6 separate regions of the Homo sapiens genome follow, and all the other regions are linked to region 5. The links are contacts of gene promoters, found by promoter capture Hi-C in blood cells and fetal thymus (Javierre and others, 2016). All regions are on one chromosome and are shown on one strand. Each heading gives the region's core, a stretch centred on a gene start or on the middle of the fragment in contact. The rest is flanking DNA. Distances are from core to core; before and after follow the strand shown.

Region 1 (2,839 bases), core at 192-2,691, 370 kb after region 5:
ACTGGGCACTTAGTAAATATCTACTGATCTAAATAGTGTGGTTTGAGGCCTCTTGTTCCTGGCTAAAAATCCTTGGCAAGAGTCAATCTCCACTTTACAATAGAGGTAAAAATCTTACAATGGATATTCTTGACAAAGCTAGCATAGAGACAGCAATTTTACACAAGGTATTTTTCACCTGTTTAATAACAGTGGTTTTCCTACACCCATAGGGTGCCACCAAGGGAGGAGTGCACAGTTGCAGAAACAAATTAAGATACTGAAGACAACACTACTTACCATTTCCCGTATAGCTAACCACCAGTTCAACTGTACATGTATGTTCTTATGGGCAATCATGCCAGGGGTTAGGCAAAAACCTGTGTTCTGAACCAAAGAAGACTTAAAACTGCTCCCATAATTTGTGAATTTCTTGAAATTTTGCGGTTTTTTGAAAATTTTTTAACAACTGGTAATCAATTTATGAAAACAGTTGACTTAAGCATTTGCAATGGTGACTTCCATCTCAACTCCTGGCTCAATACTGATGGAAGTAATCTGCTTAACTATCTGAGGACTGCGCAAGTCAATGAGTCGCTTGTGGATTCTCATCTGGAAACGATCCCATGCCTTAGAACCTTCACCGTAAGTTTTTCTTGTAGTGATTCTCAAAGTCTTGGTAGGCATTCAAACTGGTCCTTTCACTGATTCTTTTCCTTTGCTCCTCAGATCAAGTCAGCACACACCTTATCCAGGGATTTTACGTTGCAACTCGTTAGAGTGATATGAATTCGGTGAATTGCCACCTCTGACTCCACGGGTGTTTTTCTGGTATGTTTAAAAGCCATGGCTGCTGCAAGGCTTCCTAGCCAGCTTCCTGACAGACTTGGTCCTCAGGCAACAGCAAAGAGCAGTGAGTCAGGAGCAGGAGCAGGTGGACCACAGCTCCGCACCACCTATGACTGTGTCTTCCTCAAAGAGAAAATGTCTTTTAATGTCGGAAAATATTTATACACTTAGAAAAATCCATACACAAAGAATAAAGCAACTCTCCCATTTGCTACTGACATCAGATCCCCAGTTTAGAGTCAACCACAGTAACACAGAACTCTTATACTAGCATGAACATATTTATTCACATACCTTTCTAAAACACGAATGGTAGATACTACATTTTGGTTTTCAAACATAGCTTGTTTTATTATAAACAAACATCATTCTCTGGAAATTAAAAGCTTTGATAATTTCAAATTATTTTTAACAATCAGTCACTAACGGAATGCAAAAGGCAATTTTATTATTATACATTAAAACGTAAATCACATTTGAGCACGAACACTAACAAATAGGCTCATTTGTCATCTTTATGCCGTTTCTCTTCACTGGTTTCTTCCATATACAAAATAAATTCTTCTTTGTCATAACCCATTAGATGGATATAGTCTTCACGGTTTGGAAAGAGCACTGGATTAACTAACAGTGATTTTGTTTTAGCATAAAATGTGGTAAATACATGTTTAGCATCTGGAATCTTCACATCATTCTGGTGAAACACTGTACTCGTTTCTGCAAGCATAGCATTGTAGGTAATGGCTTTATAAGTGTCTGTTGTGGCCTCATGGTACAATCGAATGACATAGCCTTTTGTAATAAAGTGAAGCAGCACTGGGGTGATCACCGTAAAGCTTCCCATGATGCCATAGAATATGATTTGAATAGGCAGAGGCACACTTTCAGAAATAGCATTATTTTGTGTAAAAATGTATGGCAGAAATGTAAGGCCAATCAGACTCGTAGAATAAGAGAAACATTTCACACCTAAATGGGAAAAAAAGAGAGAGGATCAATACTTTTAAATTTTATAAAAGAATCAATCTATCCCACTAATTCTTCCATTTTTCTTCTTACTGTATCAGCTCAAGACAACAAAATCAAACCATAAATACAGTGCTTATTATATTCTAAGCTCTGTTTTAAGGACTTTACATATTTTGACTTCAATGTCCCTGCTACTGACCATTAGAATGCACTGCCTCTCCAGGCAGGAAATCTGCTTTAGGGTTTAAGTGGCCCTACCTCAGTTCCACAATAAAGTAGTTAATATTACTTAAAGATCCTTACTAATATTGTACTACAAAAGTTGATTCAGATAGCAGATTATCAAACAAAACTCTCTATTAACAAGCACTCCAGTATATCTAACATAAAATATTCAAACATGGGAAATTCTATCAGGCTAAGTGCCCAGGATTAAAACAGCAAATCACCAGAGAAATAAAACCAGTGGTTAAAAAACATATCGGACGGCCAGGCGCATTGGCTCATGCCTGTAATCCCAGCACTTTGGGAGGCTGAGGCAGGTGGGTCATTTGAGGTTAGGAGTTCGAGACCAGCCTGGCCAACATGGTGAAACTCCCATCTCTACTAACAATACAAAAATTAGCTGGGCATGGTGGCAAGTGCTTGTAATCCCAGCTATTCAGGAGGCTGAGGCAGGAAAATCCTTGAACCCAGGAGGTAGAGGCTGCAGTGAGCCAAGACTGCACACTGCACTCCAGCTTGGGAGACAAAGCGAGACTCCATCTCAAAAAAAAAAAACAGAAACATATGGGAAAGGTATTCAATTTCTTTAGTAAGGAAAGACATTCAAGTTAAAACAATGAGATAAGCAGCCTGGCCAGCATGGCGAAATCCTGTCTCTACTAAAAATACAAAAATTAGCCAGGCTTGGTGGCATGCACCTATAATCCCAGCTACTGGGGGTGCTGAGGCAGGAGAATTGCTTGAACCTGGGAGGTGGAGGTTGCAGTGAGCCCAGATTGTGCCACTGCACTCCAGCCTGGGCAACAAGAGCAAAACT
Region 2 (2,820 bases), core at 27-2,526, 490 kb after region 5:
AAGTGGTCCCCCTGCCTCAGCCTCCCAAAGTGCTGGGATTACAGGCGTGAGCCACCATTCCCAGCTAGTCACAAAAATCTTTATCCTTGTTATAGACTGAGAAGAGGAAGAGGAGGGTTTGGTCTTGCTGTCTCAGGAGTGACAAAGGCAGAAGAAAATCCATGTATAAGTGGACCTGTGCAGTTCAAACCTGTGTTGTTGAGGGTCAGCTGTGCTTGAAGAAATTGCTCAGTTTAGAAGACTCTCACCAAAAAGAAAGCAAAAAAACCACCACACACACACACACACACACACACACACACACACACACGCAAAAACCCCCTGTGCTTGAAGAAATTGCTCAGTTTAGAAGACTCACCAAAAAGAAAGCAAAAAAACCAACACACACACACACACACACACACACACACGCACGCAAAAACCCCCCTAATGATAGAGAAGGTTGGTTCAGTCCTTGCAAGCCTTGCAAGTTCGTGATGAAAATAAGTACAAGTAACAGAAAGTTAAGACAGTTAATGGTGATGGCTTGGAAAGGACTACCCATGATCCTAAATAGTAAAAATAGTGTTAAAAGGTACTAGCTGCTGCTTTTTTTTTTTTTTTTTTAGCACTTTTTCTAACATTGACTTTTTTTTTGGTGTCTGCTTATGACTGAAGTCAGACTTTTCTTTTAAAAATATATTTTTAAATTATTTTAAATCTTCATGAACTGGCAACAGTTAATATACTGAATTTTTAAAAATTCAGCTGCTGTAGTTTTAATAATTGAAAATGATTGAAAGTTAAACTGATAATTTCTTGAATTGGCAACGTAGGATGTCAAAACTGATTTTATAAGTCAGTATTTGTACTTTTCATATTTCTTAATTCCTTCTTAGAATGAAACTTGTCATAAATATATTTTATGTTCTTTTTTTTTTTTTTTTTTTGAGATGAAGTCTTGCTCTGTCACCCAGGCTGGAGTGCAATGACATAATCTCGGCTCACTGCAGCCTCCGCCTCCCAGGTTCAAGCAGTTCTCCTGCCTCAGCCTCCTAAGTAGCTGGAACTGTAGGTGTGCACCACCACACCCGACTAATTTTTGTATTTTTATTGGAGACTGGGTTTCACCATGTTGGCCAGGCTGGTCTTGAACCCCTGACCTCAGGTGATCCACCCACCTCGGCCTCCCAAAGTGCTGGGATTACAGGCGTGAGCCACCATGCCTTGCCTAACTTTTGGATTTTTAGTAGAGATGGGGTTTCACTATGTTGGCCATGCTAGTCTCAATCACCTGACCTCAGGTGATCCGCCTGCCTTAGCCTTCCAAAGTGGTGAGATTACAGACGTGAGCCACCATGCCCAGCCGCTTAAAGGTATTCTGAAAATCTCAGAATCATTCTATGGCTACTTTTGGCAACTGAGGCCCAAGTTTATGTAAACTTTGAAGCAAAAGGTTTTTTTATTTTTATTTTTATTTATCATTATTTTTTAAGACGGGGAGTCTCACTCTGTCACCCAGGCTGGAGTGCAGTGGCGCGATTTCGGCTCACTGCAACCTCCACCTCCCGGGTTCAAGCAGTTTTCCTGCCTCAGCTTCCTGAGTAGCTGGGACTACAGGCGTCTGCCACCATACCTGGCTAATTTTTGTATTTTTAGTAGCGACAGGATTTCACTATATTGGCCAGGCTGGTCTCGAACTCCTGACCTTGTGATCTGCCCATCTCGGCCTCACAAAGTGCTGGGATTACAGGTGTGAGCCACTGCGCCTGGCCCAAAAGTTGTTTTTAAGAAGGCTTAGAAGATTGAACTTGCTCTTTATCAAAATACTGATCTTACATACTCTTACATACTTGCAATCTTTTATAATACATTATTATATTTTAGAACACATACATTGAAACTATTGTAGTGAAAAAAGTTGGTATTTTTATTTTGGTCAGTTCTCTATGTATGAGATACTTTAGTTTGCTATCTACCTTAAGTGCCAGGGTTTAAACATTTTTGCTGTATTTTTCAGCTTAGAAAATCTTCCTGTAAGAATTAAATGTGATTTTTTTTTTCCTACTTGTTGATGACTCTGACCAGCATATACAAGTTTCCACCTAGTATGTCAGGAGAAAGTATTGGTAAAATCCCTAAAATCACAGTATAGTATACCTGAGCATGATAAAGAAGAAAACAAATCACTTTCTTCCTTGAATTAAAAAGTTTCCCAAACTGTCTTGTTATTATGTGTGTATTTGGGCTTGACAAAGTAACTACCCTGGAACCATAAAGTTAGCGGTTCATTTTAAGATTTTAGGCTGGGCATGGTGGCTCACGTCTATAATCTCAGCACTTTGGGAGGCCAAGGTGGGCGGATCACTTGAGACCAGGAGTTTGAGACCAGTCTGGCCAACATAGCAAAACCCCCTTTCTACTAAAAATACAAAAAATTAGCCAGGTGTGGTGGCACATGCCAATAGTCCCAGCTACTTGGGAGGCTGAGGCACAAGAATGGCTTGAACCCAGGAGGCGGAGGCTGCAGTGAGCCGAGATCACACCACTGCACTCCAGTCTGGACAATAGAGCAACACCCTGTCTCAAAAAAAAAAAATTTATTCCTGCTGATGGAAATCTTCTGTGTAAAGAGTGCTTAGAAATGCATAAGTGTGGCCAGACACAGTGGCTCATGCCTGTAATCTCAGCATTTTGGGAGGCCAGGGCGGGCAGATCACTTGAGGTCAGGAGTTCGAGCCAGACCAGCGAGACCCTGTCTCTACAAAAAATACAAAAATTAGTCAGGCCTGGTGGCTCATGCCTGTAATCCCAGCTACTGGGGAGGCTGAGGCAGGAGAA
Region 3 (3,059 bases), core at 182-2,681, 290 kb after region 5:
TACTCCATCAGTCTTTCGACATATATTTATCGAACACCTATTATGTGCAAGAAGCTGAGACTCAAAAGTGGAGAGAAAAAACACCTCAGATTTGTTTCCTCCTCTCTAGGAGTTCACTGTCTAGGTGTTCAACAAGGAAAAATGATTTAAGAGTGAAAAGTATTGTGATATAATTACCCCGACTGAAAGTCAGGGTTCCGATAGGTAGTGAATTTTAAGCCAAGACCTGAAGGCTAAGAATGGCCTATTGCCTATCCCATTAGATTTTTTTAACTTTGCTAATTGATTTATAAAATTTTAAGAAAACATTTTCTGGATATCAATTGTTTGTTATAACTGAAAACACCTCTCAGACAGACACTTAACTTTTATCTTTGTTAATGGTATTTTTTTCTTTTGACAATAAGAGTTGGAAGTTTTTCGTTGTCGTCGTCGTCGTCGTCGTCGTTGTTGTTGTTTGAAACAAGGTCTGGCTCTCCCTCCCAGGGTAGAGTGCAGTGGCATGATCCTGGCTCACTGCAACCTCTGCCTCCTGGGCTCACCTCAGCCCCCTGGGCTCTCACCTCAGCCCCCTGAGTAGCTGGGACCACTCGTGCACACCACCACGCACAGCTAATTTTTGTATTTTTAGTAGAGACAAGGTTTCACCACGTTGCCCAGGCTGGTCTCAAATTCCTGAGCTCAAGTGCTACCACCTACCTCAGCCTCCCAAAGTGCTGGGATTACAGGCCTGAGCCACTGCGCCCAAGCAAAGTTTGAAGTTTTGGATGTAACAAAATTTATCTCTTTTTTTATTTCATACTTTTGTTGTTTGTGTCTTGTTTGCCTAATATTTTGCCCTGAGATCATAAAGCTGTTCTCCTAATAGTTTTAAGTAGATTTTCTTATAATAGTTTTGAAGTTTTGCTTTTCACATTTAGACCTGTAATCCATTTGAAATTTAACTTTTTTGGAAATTTAACTACTCAAAAATGTGAATTAGACATTTCATTTTATTTTTTTTCCATAAGGAAGGTGAATTTTGGCAATGCCATTTATTGAATTTACCCTTTTCCAACGGGTATATGGAAAGTCCCTATAAATATAATCTGTTCCCAGATCTAATTATCTATTCTGTGTCAGTAGTACAGTTTTATTTATACAACTTTTTAAAAATGTCTTTATATCTGATAGAGAAATCCCCACCTCCTGCTTCTTTTTTAGAATGTCTTGGCTAGAAGTTCTTAGAATCTGTTTGTTAAGTTCCACACAATAATGTTGGGATTTTTATTAGAACTGCATTAAATTCATAATTTAATTTATGGAGAATTCACATCTTTCTATCAAGCATTTGCTTCCATAAATATGTTAGATTTCTTCATTTCTTCAGCTGTTCTTTCGTGTCCTTTGTGATAGTTAATTTTATGTACCAATTTGCCTGGGCCACAGTATGCTCAGATATCTGATTAAACACTATTGCTGGGTGTGTCTATGAGGGTGTTTCCAGAAGAGGTTAGTACTCGAATTGGTGGACTGAGTAAAGATGATGGCCTTCCCCAATGTGGGTGGACATCATTCAATCCGTGGAAGGCCTAAATAGAACAAGAAGGTGGAGGAAGTTTGGATTATCCTCTCTCTGCTTGACTGCTTGAGCTGAAACATCAATTCCTGCCCTTGGCACTCCTGGTTCTCAGGCCTTGAACTACGTCACTGGCTTTTCCTAGGTCTCCAGCTTGCAGACAGCAAACTGTGGGACTTCTCATTCCGTATAATTGCATGAGCCAATATCTTATAATAAATCTCTTTCAGCCGGGCACAGTAGCTCATGCCTGTAATCCCAGGACTTTGGGAAGCTGAGGCGGGTGGATCTCCTGAGGTCAGGAGTTCAAGACCAGCCTGGCCAACATGATGAAACCCCATCTCTACTTAAAATACAAGAATTAGCCCAGCGTCATGGCACATGCCTTTAATCCCAGCTACTCTGGAGGCTGAGGCAGGAGAATCGCTAGAAACCAGGAGGTGGAGGTTGCAGTGAGCCGAGATTGCGCCACTGCCTTCCAGCTTGGGTGACAAAGCAAGACTCCATCCAAAAAAAAAAAAAAAGAAAAACTTTCTAGATAGATAGATAGGTGTAGATATGTAAGTATCCTTTTGCTTCTGTTTCTCTGGAGAACCCTGACTAATACATTCTCTAGTAAACTTAAATTTTTCTCCATAAAGGTTTTGCAGTGGATGATATTTTCAAAAGCTAAAGTTCATGAGTAGCAGAAAGTTTAGGTTTAAGGTAGAAATTAAAGTTATAATCCAGAAGTTTCCTCTGGATCAGCTTAATATAATTAAAACTATCATGAAGAAAATAAAATGGAAATGCATTTTAATAGACCACTCTGGAAGATAATGGGAATGTGTTCAGCATAATCTGTGTTGTAATATTTTAGTTTTTTTTTTTCACCCTTACAAGAAATCAAAAGAAAGTCTGTCCTAGTGTTTCTTGGAGCATCTATCTAATATGCTAGAGTCATAGGAGTCTCCCAGGCATATTTGTTCAAGCCTAGACCTGGAGAAGTATCCTCTTCAAACAGGACTACTAGCTGCCCTTAGGCTCACGAAGTATTGAAGGCCTAAGAAGGTAATCACGGCAGGCTGGATCCCAGAAAGTGAATGCATGCTTTCACCTCTAGCTGGAACCCTTTTCTACTCCACAGATGTTCACTGCCCTTTTCTATCCCTTCTATTCCGCATTTTTATACTGAAGCATAACTTATGCTAACACCTCATCCCCTGGATTACTTTAACAGAGAATAAAACGTAAGGTAAGGAAATTAAGCTGTTAGAGTAAAATTGCAGGTGTGAGCCTGGCTACCAAGTCGCCATTTTAGTGAGTTCAGACCACTCAAATTAAAACTGATACATATCAATGACCTAAAGGAAGCCTTAGCAGGATGAGAGAAACCTAAGTGGGAGTGTGAAGATATGCCCCAACAATCATGATTTCTGTGTGGCAGGGGACAGTGAAATTGGGCCTATTCCAGAGTTCCTCAGAAATGTGAGTCACCTACATGAGACATGGCTGTGTTTGA
Region 4 (2,916 bases), core at 279-2,778, 470 kb after region 5:
GGAAACTTCTTCTTTAAGTTTTCCTCTTTCATTGGAATATGTGGGTTTCCTCACTGTTGTAATGTTGATGACACAACAAGGCTAACACCGGATATGCTTCTGGCTGATTCCGGTTTACCAAGAGCATCCAAACATCCCTCAAGGACACAGTCATTTTGCACAACAAAGGGAAACTCCGCTCATTTCTGGCATTAAGGTGGACATCTGAGAAAGGGGAGGGTATACCACCATAACTTCTCTAGTGATGAATAGTGTTTAATATTATACCATAGACTAACTGGCGTATTTTAAAGATCTTTTTCCTTTTTGAACACATTTCAGATTAGAGAAGTTCCAGAGAACGTAATCTATTTTAAGAGTGTGAAAGAGTGATATTCCACATTGCTTTTATATCTTAAAGAAATTTCTAAAAAGAAAGCCGAGTCAATAAAATGACAGATTTTAAGCCTTCATTCTGGTAACATAAAAGCCTTCTACTCATTGTGTCTGCCACCTTAATTTTTAAAGATAGAGCATGAGGTGTAAGCTTTTGGCTTCCATTTTCCTCTTATAAACCAATGACATCTTCAGTTCCAGAATAGCTTTTTAAAAACGTGACTTCTGATAAATGTTGGCAGAACTGGTGCATTCCTAAAATAAATTATGTATGCTCAGCTTTCCCTACCCAAGTTCATCCCTAAATGACCACAAAACTGCCCACCACGAACTATGCTTAAGAGAAGTCTGGACATAATGGTATAAGTGTATATAACACGACATTGGTATATTTAAAAAAAAATTCATGCCTAGGGTCAATTCTGATAATCAAATTTAGACTGCTGCAACAACCGTAACTATTGTTGATATATGCGCAGTTTAAAAGTGAAGGGCGGGGGTAAGGGGCAGAAACTGCACACAACAAACTTCCAAATTTTGTCTCCCTTTTCAGGCAAGTTTCAGCTCCACAAATCTAAATACCCTCGCCTTTAAAATATCAGTGTCGTTCTGCTCTTAAATCCTCATCCCGTTGTACAAGGAAACCTATGTCTCTCTTCCCCAAATTAAGAATACGAGAAGCCTTCCAGGTCTGCAAATACCAGAAAGCAGCTGCGCATGAAGTTTTATGGGGCCCCAAGGCTCTGAGAGTGGGCTTGGAGGTATGGAAAACACATCCCAAGGGAAAAATCTGTGAACCGCACAACTGTGGTTGGAAACGAAATAGGAAAAAAACTGCGCGGAACCGGACGTCATCAGCATTTCGCGGTACACACGAAGAAAACAACCGTAGTCGGGTCAAAACTGGAGCCGTGTCTCCTCAGTAACGAGAGTAAATGGGGGCCCGACGCGTGAGCGGCCAGCCGGACTGAGACAGAAAGTACTCAGAGCGCCATTTACCGCGCCCTCGCCCCGCCCCGTAGCCCCTCCTCCCGTCCGCCCTGCGCGCCAGCCAATCCCCTCGCTCCATCCCCTTCCCATCGCAGACCCCGCCCCCGCGCCCGGGATGTTGAGCCCCCGCGGCGTGACGCGAGCACGGCAGCTCCTCCCCCTGCGTCTCTGGCCTCGCCGGTCTTGGGGGGATGGTTCCATCATGGCGTCAATGCAGGTGAGAGGAGTTTGCTGCATCTGGGCGGGCCAGGGAGCCGCCGAGAGAGTGCCAGCGTTCGGGCGGGGGTGGCGTCCGCGATTCGGGGACACCCGGGCGGGTTCGGGATCGGTCCGGGTGGCCTGTTTTCCCTCAGCTCAGGGCGTCGGGGGAGGGGTAAGAGGCGGCGAGAGGCGTTGTGGGGGGTGCGGTATCCGTCGGTCGAAGCGGACACCAGCCGGCCGGGAAGTTGGGTGATAAAGGAGGGTTGGGGAAGAAAGGGCAAAGTCTGGCGTTGGCGGTCTCAGAATCGGCTCCCCGCACACACACACGGGCGCTGCCAGTCTGCTGCCCGCCAGCCCCAGGGTTGCCTTTACCCCCGCTGTCCCTGGCCCGACGGAAACAGCTGCGCCCGCGGTTGTTGCCGGGGCAGGGGCGGCGGGGGGCTGAGTGTGCGGGAGCCGAGAATGCGTCTCCGGAGAAGGCGGCTGGCTGCGGACGGCGCTTAGCGGCCTCTGCTCCGGCCTCCCACGCCGGGCCCCCCAGACTGCTCGGCCCCGTCCCTCTCTTCTTCCCTTTGACTCTTAATCCTGTGCCCGTGGGTATCTTCTATTTCCATCAGCCTCGGTATTCTCGCGGACATTCCTCCAGCAGTCCACTGTCTCCTTCCTCTCGAAGCTGCCCCGTGTCCACCGCCTGATGGGCGATCTCCCGAGAGCCGAGTCCTCAGCCCCCTTAAACCTCTCGGGATAGCTTGCCTTCTATTTTGTTTCCCACTGCAAGGCCCCACCCTTGCGGTCGCGATAAGGCTATACATCTCTTTGCCCTTATTCCCAGACCTTTAGTGGAACCTTAGTTTGGTAGGAGGCGTTTGTTAACCTGTGCCATATCCCCCCGACTTAGCAAGGCGTGGTTTTCTGGCTTTCCAACTTAATTTACTCCTTTTTCCCGAATCTAGGGAGTTGTGGGTTTTTTTGTTTTTTGTTTCCAGGCAAAGATGGCAACCACAATTGTAGTTGTGCAGGGATTGAGTGCGTTATCTGTAGCCTGCATTTAATTCACAGGTGAAGACTAGCGGTATCAAAGGCATTGGAAGAGAAAGTAGAACGCTCAATAGGAGTGTCAGCTGAGTACCCTTTAGCGTTTTCATAATATCCCCTTGGGTAAAGAGACCACATTTTCTTAGAAGTGTTTTTTGCTTTTGTTTCTGGAAGAAGCAAGTCTCTGTTCCTCCTCCATTTTTTTTTCTTTACTCTGCTAAAAGTGTTTTTCTTCCCTTTTCTGCATCTTCTTCCTCTTTTGTACAAATATAGCTTTGCTTCACATTTACTCCTGTGCTTTTATGTTATTCCCCT
Region 5 (3,071 bases), core at 553-3,052:
GGATTATGGGAGACAGTCAGTGTAGTATGAAGGCTTTGGAGACCAAAGACTCTGCCATACAATAGCTATATTACTTTGGGCAACCCTGTTGCTTTCTCCTCATTTACATAATGGGAATAACTTGTCTACCATGCCTGTCTCAGACAGATACTTTTGAAGACATTATTGAAGAAATTATAAAATGTCTGACACATAACAAGCTGTTAATAAATGATTTACCTAAATGCACTATACAAATTTAAGCCCTATAATTCCTTAGTAAAGATATAAAATTCAAACAATTCAGAAGTGACTGGGGCAAAGAACTCAGGTATACTAACATTCTATTCTCCTTTAAGATTTATTGCTCTTTTTTCCCTCTTGTTTTTAAGGTGAAACCATTTGGTATATTAGATGAAATCGTCACAGTGCACATTTAGAATATTATGAATTTAAGACTAAGAAATCACCAACACAAACCACACATTTGCAGTTTTTTGCAAGTGAATTTTTTTAAGTTTCAACATTAACATTTGTATTTTGCATTAAATTATTTTAAATAGCATTACACTAGCCTATACAAAATTTGTTATTGACCTATTTGATATTTGTGTGCTTATGGAAATGGAAAAGGTTTTTAATCCCAAACCACCATCATGACACAAGAGAAAGAGAGAGAGGAGAGAGAGAAAAAGAGAAAGGGAACACATAGTTGTGTTGAAAGTAAATCCAAGAAATCGCAAGTAGCCTTAACATTACCATCCAGGAAAGTCTGTTCAAGATAATCAATGATCTGAGTGGCCTCACAAATTATGTTTTCCCCGTGGATAAGGACAGGCACTTCTCCAGTTGAGTTCAAACGCATAAACCAAGGCTCATTGTGCTCACTCAAGGGCAGACTTACATCATGTTCCTCGCACTTCAATGCCTTTTCAGCAATTACCAAGCGCACCTGGAAGAGTTCACACTGGTTACTACAACACATGTAAGCTTTCAATTAAATGACTTCCCTGGACACCGCTAAGCAGCCTTTCTGGGCTTCCCTGTGTTACCGACATTTTCAACAGTCGTTTTAACAATTCCTATTCCTGGAATTAACAAGTAAGGAAAGAACAATACTCAACAAATTAAGAGAAGAACACAAAATAAGTAATGAAATGATTCTGACTGTATTCATTAAACAGTCACCCTCCTCATCACTACCACTTTCTCGGTGTCCTAAACCTGATTATGGGTCCTCCCCAGACAAGAACCTGACATGTAGGTACATCAGCTCTTGCTGAAGACAGTGAATGCGAGAGAGCAAAAGAAGAGATCGCAGATTATGAGGGTCCACAAAGGCACCTCCCTCTGCCTCTCTCCGAAGACCAGCAGGCAAGGCCTCCAGACCAAATACTGAAAATGATGCTTTTTTGTCGCATTTCGCGAGAGGCGGAGCCTGGGCCATAGCCACATAGGATCATCTCCGATCGATTCTCCCCGCTCCCCACCCGGGCGCGTCCCCGCCTGGAGGGAGCGCCTGCCCGGGGTCAGGACACTGGAGGCGGATTTCTAGGTGGACCGGCTTCCCTGGGCGGGACTCAGAAGGAGCTGTCCCAGTGCTGAAGCCCGATCCGCGCCACCCTCCGCCGCCAAGGCCTGTTGTACCTTTTGAGAGCTGAAGGAATGCGTCCAATGGTACAGAATGAGCTTAACCTCCGCGTCGGCCTTGCCTTCCGCCCTCAAGGGCGGGCTCCCTCTCTGCTCTTCCTGCCTCTCAGCCATCTTGGGGTGCGCGAGCACGGGTGCGCCCAGCCTGTCCGCCCTGGACTTCTCCCTCCCACACTGCCCCGCAAGGCGTTTCCGGGTTTTGAGGGGTACCTGCCGGAAGGAGGGCGCGCGGCCCGCTGGGAAATGTAGTTTCGCCGGCGGCAGAGTCTGCGAACACGCGGGGTCTGCGACTGGAAAGCCCCTGGCAAGCCTGGGAGTGCACCTGGGAGGTGCAATTGAACGGTTGTTTTTTGGGTTTGTTTTTTTTTTTAGAAGAAAAAATAAAAAATATGAGACCCTGGTTATGAAGGGCAGTAAGGAAGAATGATGATAGCAAATTACTCTTCGGTTTGGAGGTTGCTCAGGTATAAAAGCAGCAATTTCCCAAGATACTGAGGGTTGCTCTTGGAGCCTGTTCCTTTGTTGGAAAGGAAGTTCCGGTCGACAAGCAAAGCAACAGGAAAAGGATCTATGAGCTTTCATTAGAAGATGCTACTATGACATTAGTGGACTAATTCCACAAATTTGACTAACTGCTGTAGATTAGAGAATAGTCTTGTATAAACAGTAAGTACTTGATTTTGATAATTAAACTGTGCTTTGTAAAAGAAAAAAAAATACCACTATGGAGTCATGCAAAAAAACTGTTTTTGTCATAAACAGCTAATAAACAATGGCGATATAAAATAGCCTAGTTGTTAAACACAAAAATTCTACAACAGTACTGCCTAAGTTCATATCCTGGTTTTTCCATTTTCTAAGTAAGAATAATAATTTTATTGTTTCCCTCATAAGATTTTTGTGAAAAATTAATAATAAAATGTTAAACACTCAGAACACCCTGTCACGTTGTAGGCACTCAGTCTTAGTCACAGGTTCAGTTGTCTTATAAACATTCTGTTATAACCATAGTCAGAATCATAATTTTATATTAGTCTAGTTATTATTGTATGTCTTTAAAAATTTGGCATCATATAGTAAGTTGATTTTAAAAATCTCTTTCAGTAATATGTATAAATATGACCATAGAATAAATGCCTGTATAATTTATCTGGCAAATATTTATTGAGCACCTACACTGTTCCAGACATTGTGCTGGCTCCTGGTAATATAAAGATGTGTGAAATCTAATATCTAACACTCAAGATATAATCTGGCAGTAGAGACGACCAAGGAAATAGACAATCACAATAAAGATGAGAACTGTCTTAGGGTGAACACAGAGTACTATGAGAAAGGAGGGGCAGGCAGCCAACCCAGGTCAGAGAAGGGCCCCTGGAAAAGACAAAATCTCATGAGGTTCTTCCTTGCCTTTACAGTACTTCATTTGTTACTCTCTGTAA
Region 6 (3,143 bases), core at 243-2,742, 390 kb after region 5:
CAGGTGTGAGCCACTGCACCTGGCTGCTGAGAAATCTTTGCCTACAGTGAGGGTATGAAAATAATTTGTTTTCTTCTAGTAGCCTTATTTTGCATTTTAAGTTGAATTCTGTGAACCATCTGAAATTGATTTTTGTGTATGGTTTAACAGTGAGCTTCTTATCCATATGGATATTGTTCCAGCTTCCTTTGTTGAAGAGACTGTCCTTTCTCACCATACGCTTTGACCTTTGACTCACTTTTCCATATAAGGATTCAGGAAATCTGTGCTTATCTTTTTTTTTTTTTTTTTTGGCCATTTATAAGTTGATATGAAACAACTGTAGCCCACCAAAATATAAACTACAGAGAACCATCATTCACTATCCAGGGACCACTTAACATACTGTGATTACCTGTTGCAATCCACACTACTATATGTAATACTTTTTTTTTTTTTTTTTTTTGAGACGGAATTTCACTCTTATCGCCCAGGCTGGAGTGCAGTGGCGCAGTCTTGGCTCACTGCAACCTCCGCCTCCTGGGTTCAAGCCATTCTCCTGCCTCAGCCTCCCGAGTAGCTGGGATTACAGGCACCCACTACTACACCCAGCTAATTATTGTATTTTTCGTGGAGACGGGGTTTCACCATGTTGGTCAGGCTAGTCTCGAACTCCTGACCTCAGGTGATCCACCCCCTTCGGCCTCCCAAAGTGCTGGGATTATAGGCGTGAGCCATCACACCCAGCCCCATCAAGCATTTTTATACCTGTCTAAGCTAGTTGTATTCTTTTTTCTGCTATTTTTCCAGAGTTCATGGATTTTTATGGATATTTTACATTTGGCTCTTTAATCTGTAGTGTATTTTTGTGAGTGATCTGTTCTAACCTTATTTTATCCAAGTAAATAGCCAATGTAAAAAGACAAAAAGATATGAAGAACAGATTTTGCAGCAGTGTCTGTTATCTACTTAGGTAATTCAAGTAAGTCAACTGAAAAACTATTAAAACTTATATGAGTTCTGCAAAAAAAATGACGGGATGCAAAATCAACTTAGGACATTTTAAAGCTTTTAACAACACGAGCAATAGCCTTTCAGAAAATATCATAGTAAAACAGACCCCATTCATAATGGAAACTTAAAAGTACCTAAAAGTAGACCTAACAAGAAACATGTGAGAACAAAATGGAGACTTACCCAACTATTCCTGTACAGAATATAGTCTAGAATTTCATGTAGCAATATAGAATATGATAAAGGTAATATTTCAAATCAAAGGATAAGCTATTCAAATATCTTATAAATATTCACTGATACTAGATTCAACACTTAATTTCAGTGTAGGCCCTAGGCTCACCTAGATTTTTTAAGTATTTGTTATTAAACACAAACATACACAAAAAAACTTTAAGAGATTAATATTTATATGTAACACCTTAAAAGCATAATGACGTCTCAGGCCATTGTTCATGCTCTTTCTTCTGCCTAGAACTATTCTCAATCCAGCGGTTCCCCTACGAGTGGCTTTTACCTGCCCAATTCATATTTCCAGAATTCAGCTCTGTGATGGAATACATGTTCAAGCTGAAATTTTTGTCTCCTCAAACTTATATTTCTTTAGATAACTTATGGATTGGGTCCAAACTGAATCATATTTTAAATATTTCTAACTTCTACCTAAGAATTAGGAATTTTAACTCTTAATGTTGATTTTCCCTTTCAAAGGTGGGAGAAAGGGTGGGTCTCCTCTTCTCTCCTTAATCTCTGTTGTATAAAATGATGGAATTGATTTACTACATTAACTCTGTAGAGAAACTGTTGCTACCCAAAGGGCTCCTAAGATGTGACTTTGCATTGTTGCTTAGCTACTGCTAGTTAGATAAACATCCTAAATGTTTTATTCTAGGGATTTTCCAGATAAAAGAGTTGGCCCTTGAAATTCTTGTACTTCAAGCTTTCTCGCATTTGTTTTGTTTTTTTTTTTGTTTTGTTTTTTAAAAGAGTATTTACAAAGCAGTATAATGAAAAGAAAATAATAATGGCTCTCATGAATTTTTAAATTGCGTAGTATCATAAAATGACAGTACTATTTTTAAATTTTAGAGAACTATTTGAGGATTTACATCAGTAGCTGTTGGGAATTGTGGCAATTAAGTTTAACTGGAGCCAGAATTTTTTACTGTGGTAGTAGGCAATAATGGAAGGAGTGGAATGTGGGCTGTGAAGTCAGACCTACCTAGGTTTAAATCCTAACGCTGCCACTTAAGCTGTAGAAGCCTTCAACAAGTAGCAGACTCTTCCAGTGTTTCTCATCTCTAAAATCAGAATAATTCCCTTGTGGAAGAGTTGTTTTTAAATAAGATAGGCCAGGCACAGTGGCTCACACCTGTACTCCCAGCACTTTGGGAGGCTGAGTTGGGTGGATCACTTGAGGTCAGGAGCTCAAGACCAGCCTGGCCAACATGGTGAAACCCCGTCTCTACTGAAAATACAAAAATTAGCTGGACATGGTCCCATGCACCTGTAGTCCCAGCTACTCGGGAGGCTGAGGCACAAGAATCGTTTGAACCTGGAAGGCAGAGGTTGCAGTGAGCCAAGATCACGCCACTGCACTCCAGCCTGGGCCAAAGAGTGAGACTCTGTCTCAAAAAATAAATAAACAAGATAATGTATGTAAGGCATTTAGTACAGTGTTTACCGCTTCTTAGGCCTGCAAAAGGCTCATCAGATTTAATTGTTAGTGCTGCCTATTTTCTCTGCTTTATCTCAAATTAGAAATGGTACTTTGGGAGGCTGAGGCAAGTGGATCACCTGAGGTCAGGAGTTCGAGACCAGCCTGGCCAACATGGCGAAACCTGGTCTCTACTAAAATACAAAAATTAGCCAGGCACGGTGACAGACGCCTGTAATCCCAGCTACTGGGGAGGCTGAGGCGGGCAAATCATTTGAACCTGGGAGGCAGAGGTTGCTGTGAGCTGAGATCGTGCTTCTGCACTCCAGCCTGGGCAATAGAGCAAGACTGCCTCTCAAAAAAAAAAAAAGAGAGAGTGATGGTACTTTGAATATCTGTCTCCATGCCTAGCAAGTGTTCTAGACTAAGATTTGATTTCTGCTCCTGCTCTGTCGCTACCTGAAACAAATTATTTATCCTCTCTACATGGATG

Evidence for each region. Contacts are between HindIII fragments. The CHiCAGO score rates a contact against its expected background, and 5 or more counts as called.
Region 1: a contact is called between a fragment that was not itself captured here and the fragment with the promoter of GDAP1 in region 5, in 1 of 17 cell types (fetal thymus). The highest score is 7.6, in fetal thymus.
Region 2: a fragment that was not itself captured here is called in contact with the fragment with the promoter of GDAP1 in region 5 in 1 of 17 cell types (fetal thymus); the score reaches 5.8 in fetal thymus.
Region 3: a contact is called between a fragment that was not itself captured here and the fragment with the promoter of GDAP1 in region 5, in 2 of 17 cell types (M2 macrophages and fetal thymus). The highest score is 5.6, in M2 macrophages.
Region 4: a contact is called between the fragment with the promoter of UBE2W here and the fragment with the promoter of GDAP1 in region 5, in 11 of 17 cell types (fetal thymus, total CD4 T cells, naive CD8 T cells and 8 more). The highest score is 17.3, in fetal thymus.
Region 6: a fragment that was not itself captured here is called in contact with the fragment with the promoter of GDAP1 in region 5 in 1 of 17 cell types (fetal thymus); the score reaches 5.4 in fetal thymus.

What each region holds. Positions count from the first base shown.
Region 1 is chr8:73,980,113-73,982,951 of GRCh38, reverse strand. It overlaps TMEM70 (transmembrane protein 70), which reads right to left. Exons shown (of 3, transcript NM_017866.6): 3 at 169-1,797. The coding sequence ends at 1,331. It also overlaps the pseudogene RPS20P21. Among named protein-coding and RNA genes, the nearest start is that of TMEM70, 5.3 kb to the right of the region's middle. The HindIII fragment of the contact is 450 bases long and covers 1,217-1,666 here.
Region 2 is chr8:73,856,470-73,859,289 of GRCh38, reverse strand. All of the region lies in intron 1 of UBE2W (ubiquitin conjugating enzyme E2 W), which reads left to right. Among named protein-coding and RNA genes, the nearest start is that of UBE2W, 21 kb to the left of the region's middle. The HindIII fragment of the contact is 4,198 bases long and covers 1-2,820 here.
Region 3 is chr8:74,057,547-74,060,605 of GRCh38, reverse strand. It overlaps a transcript of LY96 not described here. Among named protein-coding and RNA genes, the nearest start is that of LY96, 68 kb to the right of the region's middle. The HindIII fragment of the contact is 7,541 bases long and covers 1-3,059 here.
Region 4 is chr8:73,877,474-73,880,389 of GRCh38, reverse strand. It overlaps UBE2W (ubiquitin conjugating enzyme E2 W), which reads left to right and starts at 1,528. Exons shown (of 6, transcript NM_018299.6): 1 at 1,528-1,582. The coding sequence starts at 1,568. LINC01617 (long intergenic non-protein coding RNA 1617) reads right to left here and starts at 1,408. Exons shown (of 3, transcript NR_147034.1): 1 at 1-1,408. RefSeq lists silencers at 1,296-1,585, 1,726-1,775, 1,796-2,055 and enhancers at 1,442-2,319, 2,796-2,845. The HindIII fragment of the contact is 3,471 bases long and covers 529-2,916 here.
Region 5 is chr8:74,349,134-74,352,204 of GRCh38, reverse strand. It overlaps GDAP1 (ganglioside induced differentiation associated protein 1), which reads right to left and starts at 1,802. Exons shown (of 6, transcript NM_018972.4): 1 at 1,627-1,802; 2 at 739-931. The coding sequence starts at 1,743. RefSeq lists an enhancer at 1,560-1,789. The HindIII fragment of the contact is 8,708 bases long and covers 972-3,071 here.
Region 6 is chr8:73,961,396-73,964,538 of GRCh38, reverse strand. The region is part of intron 1 of ELOC (elongin C); the gene reads left to right. Among named protein-coding and RNA genes, the nearest start is that of ELOC, 9.2 kb to the left of the region's middle. The HindIII fragment of the contact is 886 bases long and covers 1,050-1,935 here.